2 separate regions of the Homo sapiens genome follow, and region 1 is linked to region 2. Evidence: promoter capture Hi-C in 16 types of primary human blood cells and fetal thymus (Javierre and others, 2016). All regions are on one chromosome and are shown on one strand. The core of a region is centred on a gene start or on the middle of the fragment in contact, and the rest is flanking DNA. Distances in the headings are between cores, read along the strand shown. Region 1 overlaps ZNF384 (zinc finger protein 384). Region 2 holds the start of TPI1 (triosephosphate isomerase 1).

Region 1 (4,892 bases), core at 1,923-4,422, 200 kb before region 2:
GCTGGAGGAGGGGGTTCAGGGGCTGTAGAGTGGTGGGGGTATCAGAGCTGAAAGGATCTGTAGCCTGTAAACCCCAGGTTTACTAGTGTGCAGGTAGTAAGATACAGCAATAGAATCCGGGAAACTGCTCTAATTACAAAAGTCATGCTTTTCGGTAACTTGATCTCTGTGCCTGTTTTACTATACAATGAGACTACTACCTCCCTCATAGGGTTGTTGGAATAAGTGAGTGTGAGTGTATCCATAAAAAGAGTAGATTCTAGTTCTAATACTGGTGATGAAGTTAGGGCCATTAGGGCCTTTTCAAGAGTTGGTGAGAGTGGGAGGAAAAAGCAGTAAATATGCAGGGAGCTAAGAAACATTGGCATATTTGGTCATATGTGATACATTCATTGGTATTACACAACATATTGAGACACCATCTTAGGTGCCCACACAGGATATCTAGCACTAAATTAAGTGGGCTTTATTTATCCCAGCCCAACTACATAACAAGTACTATTGGCCAGCAGTCCCAGAGTTCTCAGGATGTGGGAGCTTGGTCACAACTTTCACAACTTTTTCGGTGCTTAAAGCAAGGTTTTTTTTTTTTTGTTTTTTTTTTTTTTTCCAGACAGAATCTCGCTCTGTGGCCCAGGCTGGAGTGCAGTGGTGCAATCCCGGCTCACTGCAACCTCCGCCTCCCAGGTTCAAGTCATTCTTCTGCCTCAGCCTGCAGCTGGGACTACAGGCGCGTGCCACCACACCTGGCTAATTTTTGTATTTTTATTTTACTTTTTTGAGAGAGAGTCTCACTCTGTCGCCCAGGCTGGAGTGCCATGGCACGATCTTGGCTCACTGCAACCTCTGCCTCCTAGGTTCAAAAGATTCTCCTGCCTCAGCCTCCTGAGTAGCTGGGATTGCAGGCGCCCACCACTATGCCTAGCTTATTTTTTGTATTTTCAGTAGAGACGGGGTTTCACCATACTGGCCAGGCTGGTCTCGAGCTCCTAACCTCATGATTCACCTGTCTCGGCCTCCCAAAGTGCTGGGATTACAGGCGTGAGCCACCGTGCACGGCCATCAATTTTTGTATTTTTAGTAGAGATGGGGTTTCACCATGTTGGCCAGGCTGGTCTTGAACTCCTGACGTCAAGTAGTCTGCCTGCCTCGCCCTCCCAAAATGCTGGGATTACAGGCGTGAGCCACCGCACCCAGCCTTAAAGCAAGTTACTTAATTCTCAAAAAAGGTATCTTCAGAGTTATCTAGTCCAATCCCTTCACTAACAGTTGAAGAAGCACCCTGGCCAACACTGGTTGATGGTAGGCAAAGGGCTGAAGTCCAGGTTTCATGACCACATTCTACTCCATAGTACTACAGCTCTCCTGCATAAATCAATCTTGCACCCCTTAACCGGTTATGATTTCCACAAGGTAACAAATACACATATGTATACACATTGCCAACTGCAAGCCCCTCTTCCACAGACTCAGGCAGGAGTGTAGGTCCTTTCAAGAGGCTTCCATTTTTCTTCCATAGGGAGCTTAGCTGTTTTGTTAACACATAACCAAAGCCTTGCTCTCACATATTTAGGCAATGCAATCCCCATGACAGAATGTGTATGTAGAAGTCCTCATAAACCAGGATTTCACTGGAGACATCATGAAACTGTACCCTTCCATGACTGGAGAATTGCACAAATGGGGCATCATCACACAAGCACTTGTTCATCACACACACACTCTGGTATAAATCCTCAGTACTGTTCTTGGACATCTCCCCAAATACCTTTTCCGCATGCTCGCTCACATCAGTAGCTCCACTGCCTCTGATCCTTTTACATGAATTTATTTCTATACAATGTTCTAAAAACACCCCTTGGTTTGTACATAAGTTTTTTTCTTTTTTTCTTCATTTTTAAATTACTTTATAACAACTGGTTTCCTGATTTTTTTTTTAATTTCCTTTCCTCTGAAATCTGCCATGATTTAAAAAAAAAAAAAAAAGACAAAAAGAAAAATGCTGTGGCTAGAGGACAGGGGTGGAGAGAGGGAAAAAAAGGACAAAAATAAACAAAACATCAAATATGAAAATTCTCAGAGATAATGCATTTATAAACACAGAAATGGTTACAACAAAGATGGCCGTGATGAGTGAGTATAATATATTTATATATATATATTTATATATAAATCCGTGTCCGGCATCTGACTGTGGCACCTAGGGAGCTAAGTCCAGTCCTTGCGTTTGCCTTGAACTCTCCCTTCTCCGCAACACCCCTGTTTTGGAGTTTCACAGATAACACAAAGCCTCCCACAGCTCCTTGGGGGTGGGTTGGGGAGACTGAGAGTATAGGGTCTTTGTAGGCAGAGAAGGAGAGAGGCTTCAAGGAAATCCGTAAAACCATAACACACACTTCTAAGCCACCTGTGACCAACTTGGGAATTTCTGGCCCCTTGGGGACCACATCTCAGCCCTTGCCCCCTTCAAATAAAAGGAGGTCTAGCCCCTACCCCAAATCTCCTTCTACCAGCAGTCAATAGGAAGCAAAGTGAGACGATGTAGGGGAAGAAATGGCTCTCAGGGACTGAGGCATTTGAGAAACCTCTGTTCTTTTGCAGGCAAGAATAGAACAAGAGGCTGGTTGCATTTGGGGCTCCCTTTTCTCTGTTATCTGGGAGGGCCAGCCTCTAGTCTTACATCAGCCCAAACTTTGAGGATAAGGAGGGTAAGGATAGGGTAAGTGGCCACACTGGACAAGGTTCTATGAGGTCATAGCAAATCCTTCCCTTGAGCACCGACCCCCAGTTTTAGAAGCTTTGCTTGGGAGGGGAGGCTGCTGGATGACACCATCAGCTCAGTATTCCTTTGCAATCAGGAGGGCTGATGTTCCTTTTGAAGAAGAGTTCAGAAAAAGGATGGTATCCTGTGAAGGAAAGCCGTGACAGAGGCCCAAGGAGATGGAGCCAAGGCCTGTCAAGGAAGAAAAGGACTTTTCCCACCAAGAGTTGGAGAAAGAAGACACCAGGACTACTTCTTCCTCTTCCCAGTGGGTGGCAGCACGGATCTCTAAGAGCTGGCCAGGTGCTCCACCTGGATGGTGCTGGTGGTGACAGTGAGGCAGATGTCCTTATGATGCTCCGCCGTCTTATACGGGGTCAGGTCAAAGGAACACTGGGGTGGAGGGTTGGGATTGCTGTCCCCACCACCCCCACCCTGGGGGGCTGCCCCAGGAGACTGGAAGTGTGGTGGTGGCTGTTGCTGCTGCTGCTGCTGCTGCTGCTGCTGCTGCTGCTGCTGCTGTGATGCCTGGGAGGCCTGGGCCTGGGCCTGGGCTTGAGCCTGAGCCTGAGCCTGGGCTTGAGCTTGAGCCTGGGCCTGGGCCACTGCTGCCGCTGCTGCTGCTGCCTGCACCTGTTGCTGAAGATCAGGCGGGTTGTGTTTGCGCATATGTTTCATAAGGTATGTTTCCTGAGGGAGATGGTAAAAAGAAGTTGAGGGATAAAGAGGAAGGAAAAGAGATTACTTGTAACTAGCACCCCAGGCTCTGATTCTGCTGTAAGCAGAGTAAGCTTTATACTGGTTTTCTGGAGCCAAGACTGAGCAAAACTCAAGTAGCACTTTCAGTGGCTCACTACTGAGAAAAAAAAGAGAGGAACCTTTAGAAGTCACTCAACATTCAACTGGCAAAGGAATGAGCTGCTATTTTTTTCAAAGACCCCTGAATGAAACAACTTTACAACCTTTTCTGGAGTCTCATGGAAAATATCTAACTGGGCCAGGTGCGGTGGCTCACACCTGTAATCCCAGTACTTTGGGAGGCTGAGGTAGGTGGATCACTTGAGGTCAGGAGTTTGAGACCAGCCTGGGCAACATGGTGAAACCCCATGTCTACTAAAAATACAAAAAGTTGCTGGGCATGGCAACATGCACCTGTAATCCCACCTACTTGGGAGGCTGAGGCAGGAGAATCGCTTGAACCCAGGAGGTGGAGGTTACAGTGAGCCGAGCCGAGATCACACCACTGCACTCCAGCCTGGGTGACAGGGCGAGACTGTGTCTCAAAAAGAAAAAAAAAAAAAAAAGAAGAAGAAAATGCCTAACTGAAATCCAGCTCCCCTCAAAATTTCAAGTGGCTTTATTTTGCCTTATGTTTAAGTAAAATGAAGAATTACAGCTTATGCGTCTCTATAGGATTAGGAGATCAGGCATCCCCTAAATTCCTCAGAATGGGTCTAATTAATTTCTGAATATTTACCTGTTCTGCTAAGTTGGAGCTAGGGAGGCAGGGTATTCACTGCAACAGATCTCTACCCAGAAAATGGGGTGAAGTGGACTGTACTCTTAGAGGACTATGAGGAAGGAGAGAAGAAACGGAGCACTCACTGATGTGTATGCCCGACTGCAGATAGTGCAGGTGTACACCTTGGCATGCTTCACTGTGTGCGTAGACAGGTGCACCTCTAGTGAGGCTGCATCCGTGTACGCCCGATGACAGTTGTGGCACTTGAAGGGTTTATCTTTGTTGTGTTGCCGTCTGTGGGACTGAGAAAATTGGGAGAAACCAGAATGAATACATTGTACTCTTTCCTCCTGCCCCCTTGACCTCGATGGAAAGCAAAAAGGTAGGTGTCAGGCCTCCCAGCTTCTCCCTCTATCTGAAGAAAGTAGAAATTGTTTCAAATGAAACTTGAGAAGCTACAGGCTAAGGGTGGAAGCATACCTCATGTAGCACATACCAGGATCCCAAGACAGCTTATGCCCGTCTCACCAGTCCAGTGGTTCTTAAAATGAGGCATGGGGATCTTTAGGGAACACTAAGACCTTCACAGGGGGCCCACAGGGTCAAAACTCTTTTTTTTTTTTTTTCCCAGATGAAGTCTCTCACTCTGTCGCTCAGGTTGGAGTGCAG
Region 2 (5,100 bases), core at 2,228-4,727:
TGCAAACCCCCTCATCCTGCCTGGCTCTAGTGGGCCGGGCTCCACAAGCGCAGCAGCCGACCCCCCTCCTGAGGACTGTGTGACCACCATTGTCTCCATGGGCTTCTCCCGGGACCAGGCCTTGAAAGCGCTGCGGGCCACGGTATGGGCTGCCCCAGCTAAGGACATGGGGCCAGTGGGGAAGAAGGGGGTGGGAATGAGGGGCCATCCTTCTTGAGCAAGACCAAAGACAACAGGTGTGGTCTGGCCGAGGTTGGGCACCACTCTTTTGTGGCTGCGATGAAGGAGCTGAAGCCTGCGTTCACTGCTGGGTTTTTTGCCCCAGAACTTGTTAAAAATGTAATGCTTCTGTTTGGCCGGGCGCGGTGGCTCACGCCTGTAATCCCAGCACTTTGGGAGGGTGAGGTGGGCGGATCACGCGGTCAGCAGATCAAGACCATCCTGGCTAACACGGTGAAACCCCGTCTCTACGAAAAATACAAAAAATTAACCAAGCGTGGTGGTGGGCGTCTGTAGTCCCAGCTACTTGGGAGGCTGAGGCAGGAGAAAGGCGTGAACCCGGGAGGCGGAGCTTGCAGTGAGCCGAGATCGCGCCACTGCACTCCAGCCTGGGCGACAGAGCAAGACTCCGTCTCAAGAAAAAAAGTAATGCTTCCTTCCTCTCCAAGAACAATAGTTTAGAACGGGCTGTGGACTGGATCTTCAGTCACATTGACGACCTGGATGCTGAAGCTGCCATGGACATCTCAGAGGGCCGCTCAGCTGCCGACTCCATCTCTGAGTCTGTGCCAGTGGGACCTAAAGTCCGGGATGGTCCTGGAAGTGAGTATCCCCAGGAAGCAGGACAGGCCTGGTGGAATCTGGTCAGTCTACTACACCAGATCCCTCATTCAGGCAGCTCTGCCCTCCTCAGGAGTCAGGGGCTTCTTTCCACCTCAACGTGGCATCTGAGGGTGGGGTTCTCTGACATGGAGACAGGCTCTGGCCCAGTACCTGCCTCACATTCCCTGAAACTCCTGTCCTGAGTCTGAGCTGTTGTCTGGATCTTTGGGCCATCACTCAAGCATTCCTCTTCTGTTTCCTTCTCTGACCCCCTCTCTCCTTTCCTAGAGTATCAGCTCTTTGCCTTCATTAGTCACATGGGCACCTCTACCATGTGTGGTCACTACGTCTGCCACATCAAGAAAGAAGGCAGGTGAGTGCTGGCCACATGCGTTTTGAATGGAGAATGGTGGTGGGAATGAGGAGGGCCATTTGGAAGTCCTTGGGATAGCTATGGGAGAAGGTGAAGGGACTGCCTGATGGGGACATAAAGTGCCAGAGAGTGACAGAAGGTCTTGCAGCAGTGATTGGCCCAAGGGTTGGATCTGGCCACCAGCTTTTTTTTTAAATAGAGATGGGATCTCACTATGTTGCCCAGGCTGGTCTTGAACTCCTGAGCTCAAGTGATCCTTCTGCCTCGGCCTCCCAAAGTGCTAGGATTACAGGCATGAGCTACCGTGCCTGGCCAGGCCCCCTGCCTTTGTAAATAAATTTTCACTGGAACCTGGACACACTTGTTTATGTGTTGTTTGTGCCTGTTTTCACGCTGCGGCAGGAAAGTTGAGTCGTTGTGTCAGAGACCAGAGAGAGAGCCTGCAGAACCTCAAATACTATCTGGCCCTTGCCAGAAAAAGTTTACCAACCCCCTGCCTCCCTGGAATGGGTGGAGGGTGGTTGTAAAGGTACTGGAGGATCTGAAGACATAATAGGGTCCGTGACCCTTGTGAGGTTGTGAAGCTCCCTTAAGGCACATGGTGGCTGGGCTGTGGATTTGGGGTATGGGCAGAGAGTGTGGAGAGCACTTCCAGGGGCCATGTCTGAGAGACTACATGATGCCACTTTGAATGCCCAGTTTGTTCATCCTTTTCTGTTTTCCCCACTTCCCCAGATGGGTGATCTACAATGACCAGAAAGTGTGTGCCTCCGAGAAGCCGCCCAAGGACCTGGGCTACATCTACTTCTACCAGAGAGTGGCCAGCTAAGAGCCTGCCTCACCCCTTACCAATGAGGGCAGGGGAAGACCACCTGGCATGAGGGAGAGGGGCTGAGGGATGGACTTCAGCCCCTCTGCTCTGTACCCTTTTTCCTTTTGTCCCCGGCAGCAGGGAAGAAGCTGGAGGCCGTGGGAGAATGGCTGGGCAGAGCAGAGGGGCAGCGATAGACTCTGGGGATGGAGCAGGACGGGGACGGGAGGGGCCGGCCACCTGTCTGTAAGGAGACTTTGTTGCTTCCCCTGCCCCCGGAATCCACAGTGCTCTGCTTCTCTGTGTCGCCCCGCCCAGCCCCCTGGTGTGGAGGGAGGGGTCTCGTTTGTGCGCGTGGGTGTAGCTTTGTGCATCCTCTCCCAGTGGAGCGATCACCTGTGCCTCCCCTCCCCCTTTGTTTGCCCCTGTGTGGTTGGTCAAGGAGGGATGTGAGGGAAATAGGGACCCCCCGACTTGCCCTCCTGCCTCAGTCTTTCCCCCACCCTGTCTCTTCCTTGTCCTTCTCTGGAAAATGCCAAAATACACGATGTGAATAAAAGTACAACGGCTAAATTGTGTCCTGTTTGATACCTTGGGGGAGAGGCTTACCTTCCTGGGGTTAGCAGGAGGGCGCTTAAGAAAACTCCTAACTCTGGCCGCCTCCCTGCCAAAGTCAAGTCTCCACTTTTCACTGGTTCTAGAGCTCTAGGAAAATTGGGGTTGGGTGGGGAGGTGGAGTAGAGTGACTAAATGCCGACACAAAGCCAAGGAAAGATGGAGTGAAGAACCCTTCCCTCTCTTTATTCACACAGGAGTGGAGGATTTCCCAAATGTCCCTAACTGGCTAGCTGGCTTCAGGCTGGGACTCAGTCCCTGCAGTTCCTGCCAGGCCTTGCCAGCCGGGGCGAGGGTTGGGATGATCCTGGCGGCCTATGCCTGTGTGGGCTGCCCCTCCCGCTGTGAACCCTGCATTTGTCCCGCAAGTTTTCACTCAGGTAGACTCCCTGGGTACAAGGGTGCCTGCTCAGCAGTCGGGCATGAGCTGCTCCGATGGGCGAAGGAGGTTGTCTATCCCACAGTTGGAGAGGGGCCCTCTCTGCCCCAGTGGGCGATCTGGGCTACGGCCAAGTTGCCACCAGCTAGTTCCGCTTGAAAACCACTTCTGGCCCCGTGGGGGACTCAAGTCGCCAAGCGAGGGTTCCCCTGAGCGCCGGAGCTCACAGGTCTCGCCTTGTCCCGAAAGCCCCGCAATCGAGGCGGAGGCGACCGAGCCCCCGACTCTCCTAGAACGTTGCCACAAGAAGGGGGAACGTCGGAACAGTGCATCATCGGGCGGCGGCCGGGGCGGCGGCAGGAGGGCGGGCGGGGGGCAGGGCTCCGGGGGACTGGGCGGGCCATGGCGGAGGACGGCGAGGAGGCGGAGTTCCACTTCGCGGCGCTCTATATAAGTGGGCAGTGGCCGCGACTGCGCGCAGACACTGACCTTCAGCGCCTCGGCTCCAGCGCCATGGCGCCCTCCAGGAAGTTCTTCGTTGGGGGAAACTGGAAGATGAACGGGCGGAAGCAGAGTCTGGGGGAGCTCATCGGCACTCTGAACGCGGCCAAGGTGCCGGCCGACACCGGTAAGCCCTCGCCGAGGAGGGGTCTGGCCGGGCCGGGGCCGGGGCCGGGGCAGGAGTGGCAGCGCCCTCTCCCGAGGCCCCGAGGCCCCGAGGCCGGTATCCGCGCGGACCTGATGCAGGGCTGTGGGACGAGGGCCGCTGGGGTCCGGGCAGGGGCCTCGCAGCCGCAGCCCCGTCGGTGCGTCGAGGGGGCAGGGCGGAGCACATGATGCCCCTTGGACTATGGGGCAGGTAAGGACGTTTTGGGTCTCCTGGAGGAAGGTGGCCCCGGGGCGCGCACTGGGGCTGTGCCCGCCAGGCGACGGGGTTAGGAGCGGAGCCCGAGGCTCTGCGGGAGACCGGGGGAGGCTGGGCCGCGTGGGCTTCCCGCTCCCTGCGCCCTGGCCTCCCGCGCCGTGCGCCGCCGCACGTAGCCCCAGACTCCTCCCCTTCCTCGCCGGCGTCCGCGTCCCCGCGCCGAGCTGCTCGGGCTCCCTGAGCCCCAGATCTGACCCCTTCCCTTCGGCAACCTGAACGACTCCCGCCTTCCACGGAAGGGACCGAGCCCGTGCCAAACAGGCTGAGCGATTTGGGAGTGAGGAGCCATCCTACCGCTTTCCCCAACCTGGAAACAGCAAAGCGCAAGGCCTCTGAGTCAGTTAGGTCTCTGCCACCCACGGGCAAAGGATGCTCTCCTCCATCCTCCTTCCTCCCTCCACCGAAATCGGAGAGCCGCGGGCCTGATCCAAAGAGGCATCCCCTTCTCGTTCATTCCCCAGAGGCCTCAATACAAACCCCAGGAGTTGGCCCCTCTCCTTTTGCTACAAATCCTTGCCTTGCAAAGGGGAGGTGAGGATGGGCTATTTTAGAAGGGAAGCAGGGTTGCTCCCTGGAGAATGCTGAGTCTGTGAGGTGCCTATGCCGAGAATAGCTCGAGGAAATTGGAGCCCCAGCTGTTAAAAGAGCAGAGGGCAGGGTGAGGGCCGTGGCCTCTCAGGGGTATCTGGAAGGCTCTTCGAGTTGAGTGCAGACCCAGCCTGGGCTGGAAAATGGACAAAGGTCATCTTGCTGGGGTGAAAAGGGGGAGAGCAGAACCAAGAAGAAGAGGGTGAGGGCTGGGGGGCTCCAGGGCACTGGTTAGGAATTGTGGGGAATGAAGGCTTTCTTTAGTCTCATCCCCCTGTGGTACCATCTTGTCCTCAGAGGTGGTTTGTGCTCCCCCTACTGCCTATATCGACTTCGCCCGGCAGAAGCTAGATCCCAAGATTGCTGTGGCTGCGCAGAACTGCTACAAAGTGACTAATGGGGCTTTTACTGGGGAGATCAGGTGAGATCGAGGTGGAGAGGGGTGTGTGGGACCCTTCCCTCACTTTCCTCGTTGAGGGGAAAGCCACAGGGTGGGCTCCCTGCTGAACCTTGGCTTCATCTCTTCCTTTAGCCCTGGCATGATCAAAGACTGCGGAGCCACGTGGGTGGTCCTGGGGCACTCAGAG

Evidence for each region. The method cuts DNA at HindIII sites, captures the fragments that hold promoters and counts their contacts. A CHiCAGO score of 5 or more calls a contact.
Region 1: a fragment that was not itself captured here is called in contact with the fragment with the promoter of TPI1 in region 2 in 4 of 17 cell types (non-activated CD4 T cells, naive CD4 T cells, total CD4 T cells and 1 more); the score reaches 11.0 in non-activated CD4 T cells.

The regions. Positions count from the first base shown.
Region 1 is chr12:6,664,665-6,669,556 of GRCh38, forward strand. ZNF384 (zinc finger protein 384) reads right to left here. Exons shown (of 12, transcript NM_001385745.1): 11 at 4,367-4,525; 12 at 1,813-3,451. The coding sequence ends at 3,050. Among named protein-coding and RNA genes, the nearest start is that of ING4, 4.0 kb to the left of the region's middle. The HindIII fragment of the contact is 755 bases long and covers 2,796-3,550 here.
Region 2 is chr12:6,864,054-6,869,153 of GRCh38, forward strand. It overlaps TPI1 (triosephosphate isomerase 1), which reads left to right and starts at 3,478. Exons shown (of 7, transcript NM_000365.6): 1 at 3,478-3,628; 2 at 4,811-4,934; 3 at 5,046-5,100. The coding sequence starts at 3,514. USP5 (ubiquitin specific peptidase 5) reads left to right here. Exons shown (of 20, transcript NM_001098536.2): 17 at 1-142; 18 at 669-822; 19 at 1,111-1,195; 20 at 1,931-2,579. The coding sequence ends at 2,024. RefSeq lists enhancers at 1,731-2,393, 2,394-3,055 and silencers at 3,325-3,374, 3,645-4,084. The HindIII fragment of the contact is 21,039 bases long and covers 1-5,100 here.